2 separate regions of the Homo sapiens genome follow, and region 1 is linked to region 2. Evidence: promoter capture Hi-C in 16 types of primary human blood cells and fetal thymus (Javierre and others, 2016). All regions are on one chromosome and are shown on one strand. The core of a region is centred on a gene start or on the middle of the fragment in contact, and the rest is flanking DNA. Distances in the headings are between cores, read along the strand shown. Region 1 overlaps LOC105376219 (a long non-coding RNA gene). Region 2 holds the start of MUSK (muscle associated receptor tyrosine kinase).

Evidence for each region. The method cuts DNA at HindIII sites, captures the fragments that hold promoters and counts their contacts. A CHiCAGO score of 5 or more calls a contact.
Region 1: a fragment that was not itself captured here is called in contact with the fragment with the promoter of MUSK in region 2 in 2 of 17 cell types (M1 macrophages and megakaryocytes); the score reaches 6.1 in M1 macrophages.

What each region holds. Positions count from the first base shown.
Region 1 is chr9:111,276,795-111,281,201 of GRCh38, forward strand. All of the region lies in intron 1 of LOC105376219 (a long non-coding RNA gene), which reads right to left. Among named protein-coding and RNA genes, the nearest start is that of MIR7702, 7.8 kb to the left of the region's middle. The HindIII fragment of the contact is 754 bases long and covers 2,520-3,273 here.
Region 2 is chr9:110,667,282-110,672,384 of GRCh38, forward strand. MUSK (muscle associated receptor tyrosine kinase) reads left to right here and starts at 1,510. Exons shown (of 15, transcript NM_005592.4): 1 at 1,510-1,702. The coding sequence starts at 1,624. The HindIII fragment of the contact is 6,269 bases long and covers 1-5,103 here.

The DNA of each region.
Region 1 (4,407 bases), core at 1,647-4,146, 610 kb after region 2:
TTTGCTTCCTTTCAGCACACACATAAAAAAGACAATAAGATCTGAAAATACAAAACCTCATGCTGAGGAAAATCTGAAGGCTATTCAACCCCAAAAGAGAAAGTAGGCAGCGGCAAGTAAGAATACAGGCTGAGTCCCTGGGGATTTGAAAGGACGATCAAAGGTCCCCTTAAGAAGCTCTTCTTGTCCTTAATCAAGAGTTCCCAGAGTTTTCTGAAGAGAGCTTTAAACACATTGAAGTCCACCTGCTCTTTTTGCAAATTCAGAATTGCAAATTAAACAGTTATCTAAGTTTATATAACTATCCAGTAGCAGAACTAAGACTATATTGTCAAAACACATAGAAACAAATGGACTCTGTGAAAACCATCCTGGAAATTACCAAACTAGTTCAGAAAAGAAAAAAAAAATGTGTAAGGATTTTACATAATAATATAGTCTATTCAAAGTTCACAATATGCAACACAGATATCCTTCAAAACCTTATGTCAAGGGTCAGGGGAGGACTGGTGGTTTCAGTGGAATAGCATTGGAACATGCTCAATCTAAATTCAGATGGGTTTGGGCATGACTGGATGTTTGATGGAATCGCCCATGCAGGGCTATTTACTAGAAAAGTGAGAAGCTTTTTTGCTAAAAACCCATCATAAGGAAAGGAAACATGTGGCATGCATGCTTAGGCGAAGCACACTGGTAAGGACCAGAAGGAAGGTGTCATTTTCAGTACAGCGTTGTGTTTGCAGCTCAGATTTTTCTCCAGCACGATCCCTTTCCCCTAAGGATCTGTGCTGGAGCCCTGTGGATATAAATTGTAAACAGAAAAGGACTGGATTTAGACATCTATGAGGACACTAAAACACAAGGCAGAATTGTTCTTTAAAGAATTTAGTCTGTATAATGAAGTGTGGGTCAAAGGAACCAGAGAGAGGGCAAAAGGTATTTTCTGTAAGCAGCAAGCTGGCTTTAGGGGTAGGGAAGGAGGACTCAAGGGAGAACATCTCTCACAGGACCTAGGGATTCAAGGACTTGAGAAATGAGCCAGACCAGCCTCCTCCCAGCATAGAGAAGGACCACTTAAAAAACATACTGTGTTCATAGCCTATAATCAATTTTTATGTTTTTCTTTTCTCTTTAAAAGTCTGTCATTCGCAATTTTTCACATGCTTTATAGTCTTCATGATTTTTCACCCACTTCACAATAGCCCATTAAATGACTATGCTGAGATTTGCTTAACCATCCCCCAAATTTAAGCATTTACGTTGCTTCAAATGTTGTAAAGAACATATATCTTCAATAGCCTTTCCCTGAATCAATGCATTCTAAATTCCTGGGAGGAGTTGGATATTGAGTCAAAGTCAATAAACAATTTTCATTCTCAATAAATATAATCAAATCAGCTTTCTATGATGATTTTTTTCCTTCAAAATGTGCTCTTACCAAAAATAATAAAAAAAATCATTTTCATTACTTTTTCTTCAAATTTGGGGTATTGTCATTTTAAGAATTTCAACTTCTATCTTACAATTTTTCTTCTTTTCTTTGTTATTTCATTAAGTGGGGAGTGGCATCTTATTGCTTCCTTTCCCTTGATTTCCAATGGAGATTTTTTTTTTCACATTTACTTAACTTCATTATCTTTTGAAATTATCTTATTTCCTTTGCTCCTTAAAATTCTGTTGAACTCTGCCCTCTAATAATTTTTCATAGGCTTTAGAAAACTCTAAATACAATCTTTAGACTTTGTGCCCAAGTACAAAAGGAATCATAGATGCAGATTATAAATGAATGTAAAATAATATCTATATAAACAATGCATAAAATAAGTTACAGTTTTTATAATTTTATACTATCTTGTTGGACAAAGGGGGTTGATTACTGATGTAATCAATTGTTGATGCTTACTAATATGATGTATATTTCTGAAAAGATGGCAAAAGATGTAAGAACCTAAAAAATATTATGTATAGATTTTATACGAATGTATACACATAAAAGTACAACTCATGAATAAAAAACACATGTCCTCATAATAATAGTTACCATTAAAGAGTAGCTGCTAGGTGCCTGGAACTTTATTTAACAAATTTTTCTTTTTTTTTTTTTGTGAGACAGAGTCTTGCTCAGTCACCCAGGCTGAAGTGCAGTGACACTATCTCGGCTCACTGCAGCCTCAACCTCCTGGACTCAGGTAATTCTCCCACCTCAGTCTCCCAACTAGTCAGGACTGTAGGGACGTGCCACCATGCCCAGCTATTTTTTTTTTTAATATCTTTTGCAGAGAAAGCATTTTGCCCTGTAGCCCAGGCTGGTCTCAAAGTCCTGGGCTCAAGCGATCCTTTTGTCTCAGCTTCCCAAAGTGTTGGGATTACAGGTGTGAGTCACTGCACCTGGCCACAGATTTCTTATTCTTATAACAAGGTCGATTTTATGAATAAGGAAACTGAGGTTCAAGGTCACACTTGCTAGCAAATGCTACAGCAACAATTCAAACCCTGATCAGTATGATTTCAAAGTCATAAGCTTCCCATGATGCTCTTCTTCACCACTGAGTTGCAAGGTAAGTCATACAAAAGAGTTAAAAGGCCATAAAACTCCTATTTCCTGCTCAAGTCTTTTATTCAGAATTTACGTTCTGTGATGTGTAATTTTATGGCTTTTTTTTTTAAAAAAAAAAAAAGAATTCTATGCTAGCTTGGGAACACATGCAGTCAAATGAGATTCTAATTAGACAAATACCACAGAAATACTAAGACCCCAAAATTGTACATTTTGTTTCTACCTATCAAAGTATGCCCTAGATATTTTTGTTTCATTCAAAACAAGTAGAAATTCCCCTTTCAGATAAATAACACCGACCAGAGACTGTTAGGATGTGCTCTTTCTCCCAAGTGAGAGAGAGAAAAATCTGCCTAAAGCCTTCTAGGATTCACCATGTTTGCATAATACCATGACCTCTGTTATCTAAATATTGACATTTTACCCTTTTATGGGATTTTTACATATTCTAGATTGAATGTAATAATTAAAAACATAAACATCCTTTACAATTGGAAAGTGATTTCTCTGCTTTCCAGTTTTAAGGAAAATCTCATAGAATTAATATTATGCAACAGATAGTTCCTGCTTTAGTAGCTTAGGATATAAAACAAAGTCACTTATTTTTGAATCCTTCATCTCTCTTTAAAGCATGCCTTTTATTCTTCCTCCTTCAACACACCACTATCACATCCAAGATAAGTCCACCAACCCCAAGAATTGACTGTTCAATTCAAAGCTTCATTCCTGGTTACAAATGCCTTTTAGAGAGAGAAAAAAAAAATAACTTTTATTTTAGGTTCAGGGGTACATGTGCAAGTTTGTTATATAAATAAACTCATGTCACAGAGGTTTTTTGTACAGATTATTTTGTCACCCAGATGCTAAGCCTAGTACCCAATAGTTATTTTTTCTGATCCTCTCCCTCCTCCCACCCTCCACCCTCAAGGTGGCCCCAGCGCCTGTTGTTCCCGTCTTTGTGTCCATGTGTTGTCATCATTTAGCTCCCACTTATAAGTAAGAACATGCAGTATTTGATTTTCTGTTCCTGTGTTAGTTTGCTAAGGATAATGGCCAAAGGAACAAAACAGAAAGCCCAGAAATAAGGACATACATCTACAACCATCTGATCTTTGACAAAGCTGATAAAAACAAGCAATGAGGAAAGGACTCCCTATTCAATAAATGGTACTGGGATAACTGGCTAGCCATATGCAGAAGATTGGACCTCTTCCTTACCCCATATACGAAAATCAACTCAAGATGGATTAAAGACTTAAATGTATAACCCAAAACTATAAAAACCCTGGAAGACAATCCAGGCAATACCATTCTGGACATAGGAACAGGCAAAGAGTTCATGACAAAGATGCCAAAAGTAATTGCAACAAAAGCAAAAATTGACAAATGGGATTTAATCAAACAAAAGAGCTTCTGCACAGCAAAAGAAACAGAGAAAACAGACAACCTACAGAATGGGAGAAAATATTTGCAAACTATGCATCTGATAAAGGTCTAGTATCCAGCATCTATCAGGAATTTAAACAAATTTATAAGAAAAAAACAAGCAACCCCATTAAAAAGTGGACAAAGGACACAAAACAGACACTTCCAAAGAAGATATAGATGTGGCCAACAAGCATATGAAAAAAAGCTCAATATCACTCATCATTAGAGAAATGCAAATCAAAACCACAAGGAGATACCATCTCACACCAGCCAGAATGGCTATTATTAACAAGTCAAAAAATAACAAATGCTGACAAGGTTGTGGAGAAAAGAGAACACTTATGCACCATTGGTGGGAGCGTAAATCAATTCAACCATTATGGAAAGCAGTGTGGTGATTCCTCAAAGAGCTAGAAACAGAA
Region 2 (5,103 bases), core at 260-2,759:
ACTTACAAGGGATATGAAGGACCTCTTCAAGGAGAACTACAAACCACTGCTCAAGGGAATAAAAGAGGACACAAATAAATGGAAAAACATTCCATGCTCATGATAGGAAGAATCAATATTGTGAAAATGGCTGTACTGCCCAAGGTAATTTATAGATTCAATGCTATCCCCATCAAGCTACCATTGACTTTCTTCACAGAATTAGAAAAAACTACTTTAAATTTCATATGGAACCAAAAAAGAGCCCATATAGCCAAGGCAATCCTAAGCAAAAAGAACAAAGCTGGCGGCATCACACTACCTGACTCTAAAGTTCTATAAATGAACTCACGAGGCCAAAGAATGAAGAAGACACCAACACAAAGGGGAAAAAATCAAAACAATATGGTCATTGCAATGGTAGAGATATGCACAGTATATTATGGAAACCCAGAGAAGACAAACGTAACACAGCTTTGGGAAGATATGGAATTTTTCTCCCAGGAGGAGAGGATGATCAAGCTGAGAGATGTGTGAACTGAGTGGAAAGGAGGGGAGTAGTATTCCAAGAGAAGCAAACAGTATGAGCAATTCATGGAGGTAGGAAAGCTGTATACAGGGAACCATCAGCAGGTTGTTGAATAAAGGAAGCTGAATGAGGCTGGGCACAGTAGCTCACGCCTGCATTCCCAGCACTTTGAGAGGCCGAGGTGGAATCATCATTTGAGGCCAGCAGTTTGAGACCAGCCTGGGTAACATAGCCTGACCACATCTCTCCAAAAAATAAAAATAAATTAGCCTGCTGTAGTGGCAGTGCCTGTAGTCCTAGCTACTCTGAAAGGATCACTTGAGTCCAGGAGGCTGAGGTTGCAGTGAGCTATGATTACCCCATTGCACTCCAGCCTGGGCAACAGAGCAAGACCCTGACTCTGAAAAAAAAAAAAAACAAAAAACAAAAACAGGATCGTAAAAGACAATACTAACATACAACAAAGCATGCAGATTCCAGTAAAGCCTGTCATATTAGGCAGATTAGGCAGGTTTAAATATATTTTTATGTGATGATGAGCCCCTAAAGGCTTTTGAGCAGGAGGGACTATCTGAAAAAAGATATAGAATGGTTAAGACCCAAGACAGAGAGAAGGTACAAGGACTATTTGGTTGATAAAATCTGTAGGAATTGGAATGGGCTGAATGTGGGAGTGGGGGTGGGGTGAGAGATGGGGAGGACTGAAGACTGAATAGACCCAGATTTCTGGTTTGAGTCCGGGAGAGGTGGGGTGCTGAATTCGAAGGTCAGGACACCTATACCTCTGGGAATACAGCGATGGTTGCAAAAGGCATCTGGTATTGTCCTTCTGCCACTGTCTTAAAAGGGATTCTAAAGGGATTTTCTTGCCCTTGTTCCTCCAGCCCTACACTTGCATTACTGGCCTACGTGGATGCTCACCAGCTGGCTGTGTCCATCATTGCAGCCAAGTCTGAGAATTCCTGATTATACTTAGAGCCTGTGGAGCTGCTGACACAAACAGTCATTAGCAGACAACCCTTTTGCAACAAAGTATGCTTTAAAATGTAAACTGTGGAGCCATTTTCCTTGCGTTGTCCAGAAGGAACTTCGTCCTGCGTGAGCCTGGATTAATCATGAGAGAGCTCGTCAACATTCCACTGGTACATATTCTTACTCTGGTTGCCTTCAGCGGAACTGAGAAACTTCCAAAAGGTTGGTTTGAGCAATCGTGTCTTCTTGTTGTCTTGTCATGGTTGTAAAGTGTGTGTATATGAGATATGACCAAGACTGATTTATAGTATGGTGGGCTTGGGTTTTACTTGAAGAAGTAAGGGTGAAATGTATGATGAGGGAGGAAATTATATACATAAGCAATTGGTTGATGGTCTCTCTACCAATATTTTACTCCGAAGTTCTGCAATAAAAGGCTTAGCCACATAGTGCATGCAGAGCTCTGACTTCTAGGGCAAAACATAAGCATGTACACTGCAAGTTATCAAGGTCTATTTTGTTTATGCGAATGTCAAATTTCAGGGTGGTCTAAGTGGATGATGACAACCTTTTCGCATCAGGTTTGCCAGGAATAGAATCAACCCCATTCTCAGACATCCAGAGCATTTGCTTCTGAATAAAAATCACTTTTATTTTCAGTTTTAGCTTTGCCAAACTCTTAATAAATATTTTAGTTGCTAAAAATTGGAAATACAGAAAGACGTACACAATTTGCCTGTGTAACAAACCCGGAAGACAATGGATTTTAAATAACTTTGAGGCTGGAGTCATGATTTGGCTTGGCAAGAGACTGCAAAAGTTTTTTTCAGAGCCTTTGGAATGTACCGGAAATAACACCACCTCAGGGGAAAGGAAAGCAACTTAAGAAACTGACAAACACCTGTTGCAGTAGCAAGAATGTCCAGTGATATAGTTTCTGGCCAGTGTATTATGAAACTGGGACTAGCGTATTTGAAATCAGAAAGACTGGAAAGTCTGTGATTTGCAAAGTGACTAAGGGTATCACTGAAATCTTTTTTTAAAAAGACATGAGAAAGCAGATCGAGTGGTATCAATACAAGAGTTTTCAAATTTAATGTTATACCATAGAGTAAAAAGAGATTTTTGCTTCAGGACATGTTCAAATTAATCATTTTCCCTTTATATTAATCAAAGCACTGAAACAGTTTGTATTGTGTAGATAAATGAAGGTGGTATCTGTATATAGATGCAAAATGTATCTTTAGATTTTCTGGTTCACTAAAAATTCTGGAGCCATAAGGTCAAAGTTCACATGCAAATAAGATGCGGGTTTCTTCACAAACAATCTGATTTCACAGATTTTTTTGTTTCATTTTGTTGCTTCTCTTTTTCCATTTTACTTGAGTATAATGGTATCTTCAAATGTATTTAAACATTTAATTTCTAATGAATACTTTAAGGCATCTACAGATAAAAGAGACTCTAGATCTTTTCAAACAGCTAATAATAGTCAGAAAGACTTAACATTGGCTTCAGATTATTTTAATACTTCCTGATCAAACAACGGATGTCCGGTAAGGCCCCACCTGGATGTTTGAACGTATGGGTTGTCTTAAGTATTATTTGTATATTTCTAAACCACGCAGTTACATAAAAATGATAGGGTTAAATACTAAAATACAGTCTTATAAAGAGCAGGACAATTGATTTTGATGATTCAAATAAGGATTTGTTGTACACACACACAAAACCCCCAAAATCTCTCTATCTGAATAAGTCTTAATTTATATTCTAGAAAGAATTGATTTTCATTTCCAAACTTTACAAATAAAGCCCTTAATTCAAATGCACACTATCTCTATTTTGAAAATATTGAAATATAGTGGCATAGAGATAACAAAGCCAAACACCCTGACTTTTAAATAAACTAACCAGATCATTCACCCAATTTCATTTCTTATAATTTATTTACTACTAGAATTAGGTTTTAAAATCAAAAAATTTAAGCAATTTTTTCTCAGTCTATTGTACTGTAAAATCTAAATTAGTATGAGTTTAACATCACTCTTAGCCAAAATACCATGTCTAGGAGAACAAACATTTATTTACTACATACAGCAGTTCTGAGAATAACTAATATCATGAAAGCATAATCCTTAAAATTTTAAATGTTGAAGGGTGAGGAATACATTGGTAGAAAAGAACCACAATAAAATTTTATTATTTTCATTATTATTATTATTATTTGAGACAGAGTCTCGTTCTGTTGCCAGGCTGCAGTGCAGTGGTGTGATCTCAGCTCACTGCAACCTCCTCCTCCCAGGTTCAAGCTATACTCCTGCCTCAGACTCGCAAATACCTGGGACTACAGGTGCAAGCCACCACACTCGGCTAATTTTTATATTTTTAGTAGAGACAGGGTTTCACCATGTTGGCCAAGATGGTCTCCATCTCTTGACCTCGTGATCTGCCTGCCTCGGCCTCCCAAAGTGCTGGGATTACAGGCATGAGCCACTGCGCCAGCCATTATACTACTGAAACTAATAAAAATGGCCCACCCAAACTATTTCTACTATTTCTAGAAAACTACTGTTTTCCCTATTCTTGGCAGACGGTAATAACAAAAAGAGTTTTTTAGATAATATACTTCTTCCTAAGTCCTTTATCATGAATGCATAAAGGAAATTGTACAATATGTATTAGCTAATAAATTGACATATTTAAAATAACACAAAAGTATTCAGTGGATTATTTTCTGACTTTCTGCACATCATTTTTTGATAAAAATTAATATCCAACTTTGTAGAATTAATTGTTCATAGTTTTCATTTTAGTTTAATTAAGGCTACTAATGCCCAATGATAAGGGGAAGAATCATTGTCTTTCTGAATCATTTCAACTAGTGATATTTTCAATGATGAATTCAGTGCCATAACCCAAGTAGTAGAATTTCACAAACTGTCATTTATGAAAGTAGCCAATGTTCCACTGGATAATTGGCTTAACTACATACATCAATAACATTTAATGCTTTATTAGGGAGTATTAAATGTATGGTGCAATGTTAGATTCTGCAGGAGCATAAGAGTTCATGTAAGCAGCTCTGGATTTGCTTAATATGCACAAAGAACTATCAAAAGTCTCACTTTCAAAACACCCGACTTACTACAATACGTTGAAGTGTTTGAGCGTACGTGATTTTATCTTTAGATAGATTTGAATAACCTCCTCTTTTAAATTGTATGTATATAAGGATAGGATTCACAGATTTGACATATGACTAAGTCATGACTGACACAGCTGTCATTGAAATCCAGGACACACAGTCCTGGATGAATATTTTATATTGACATGCATTGAAAGAGTTACTCATTGCATGTTTGAGTAAACAGAGTTGCTTCAAATATTATTGACCTTAAAGAAAAGAAGGAAGGAGCAGAAATTTCAAGATCTCTTTAAACTCTACCTTATTTCCAAAGGTAAATGAAGTAGGCAGCTTCTCAGTGAAATAAAACCTGATGTCGTTGAAGGAGAGTAACAAGTGAGGGGTGGAAAGAGGGCCTGAAAGGAGTGGCTCTATTCAGGAAGATGAGAGGATCACATGGGCCATGCTGAAGACCCAGCTGGGGCTAGGAACTGCA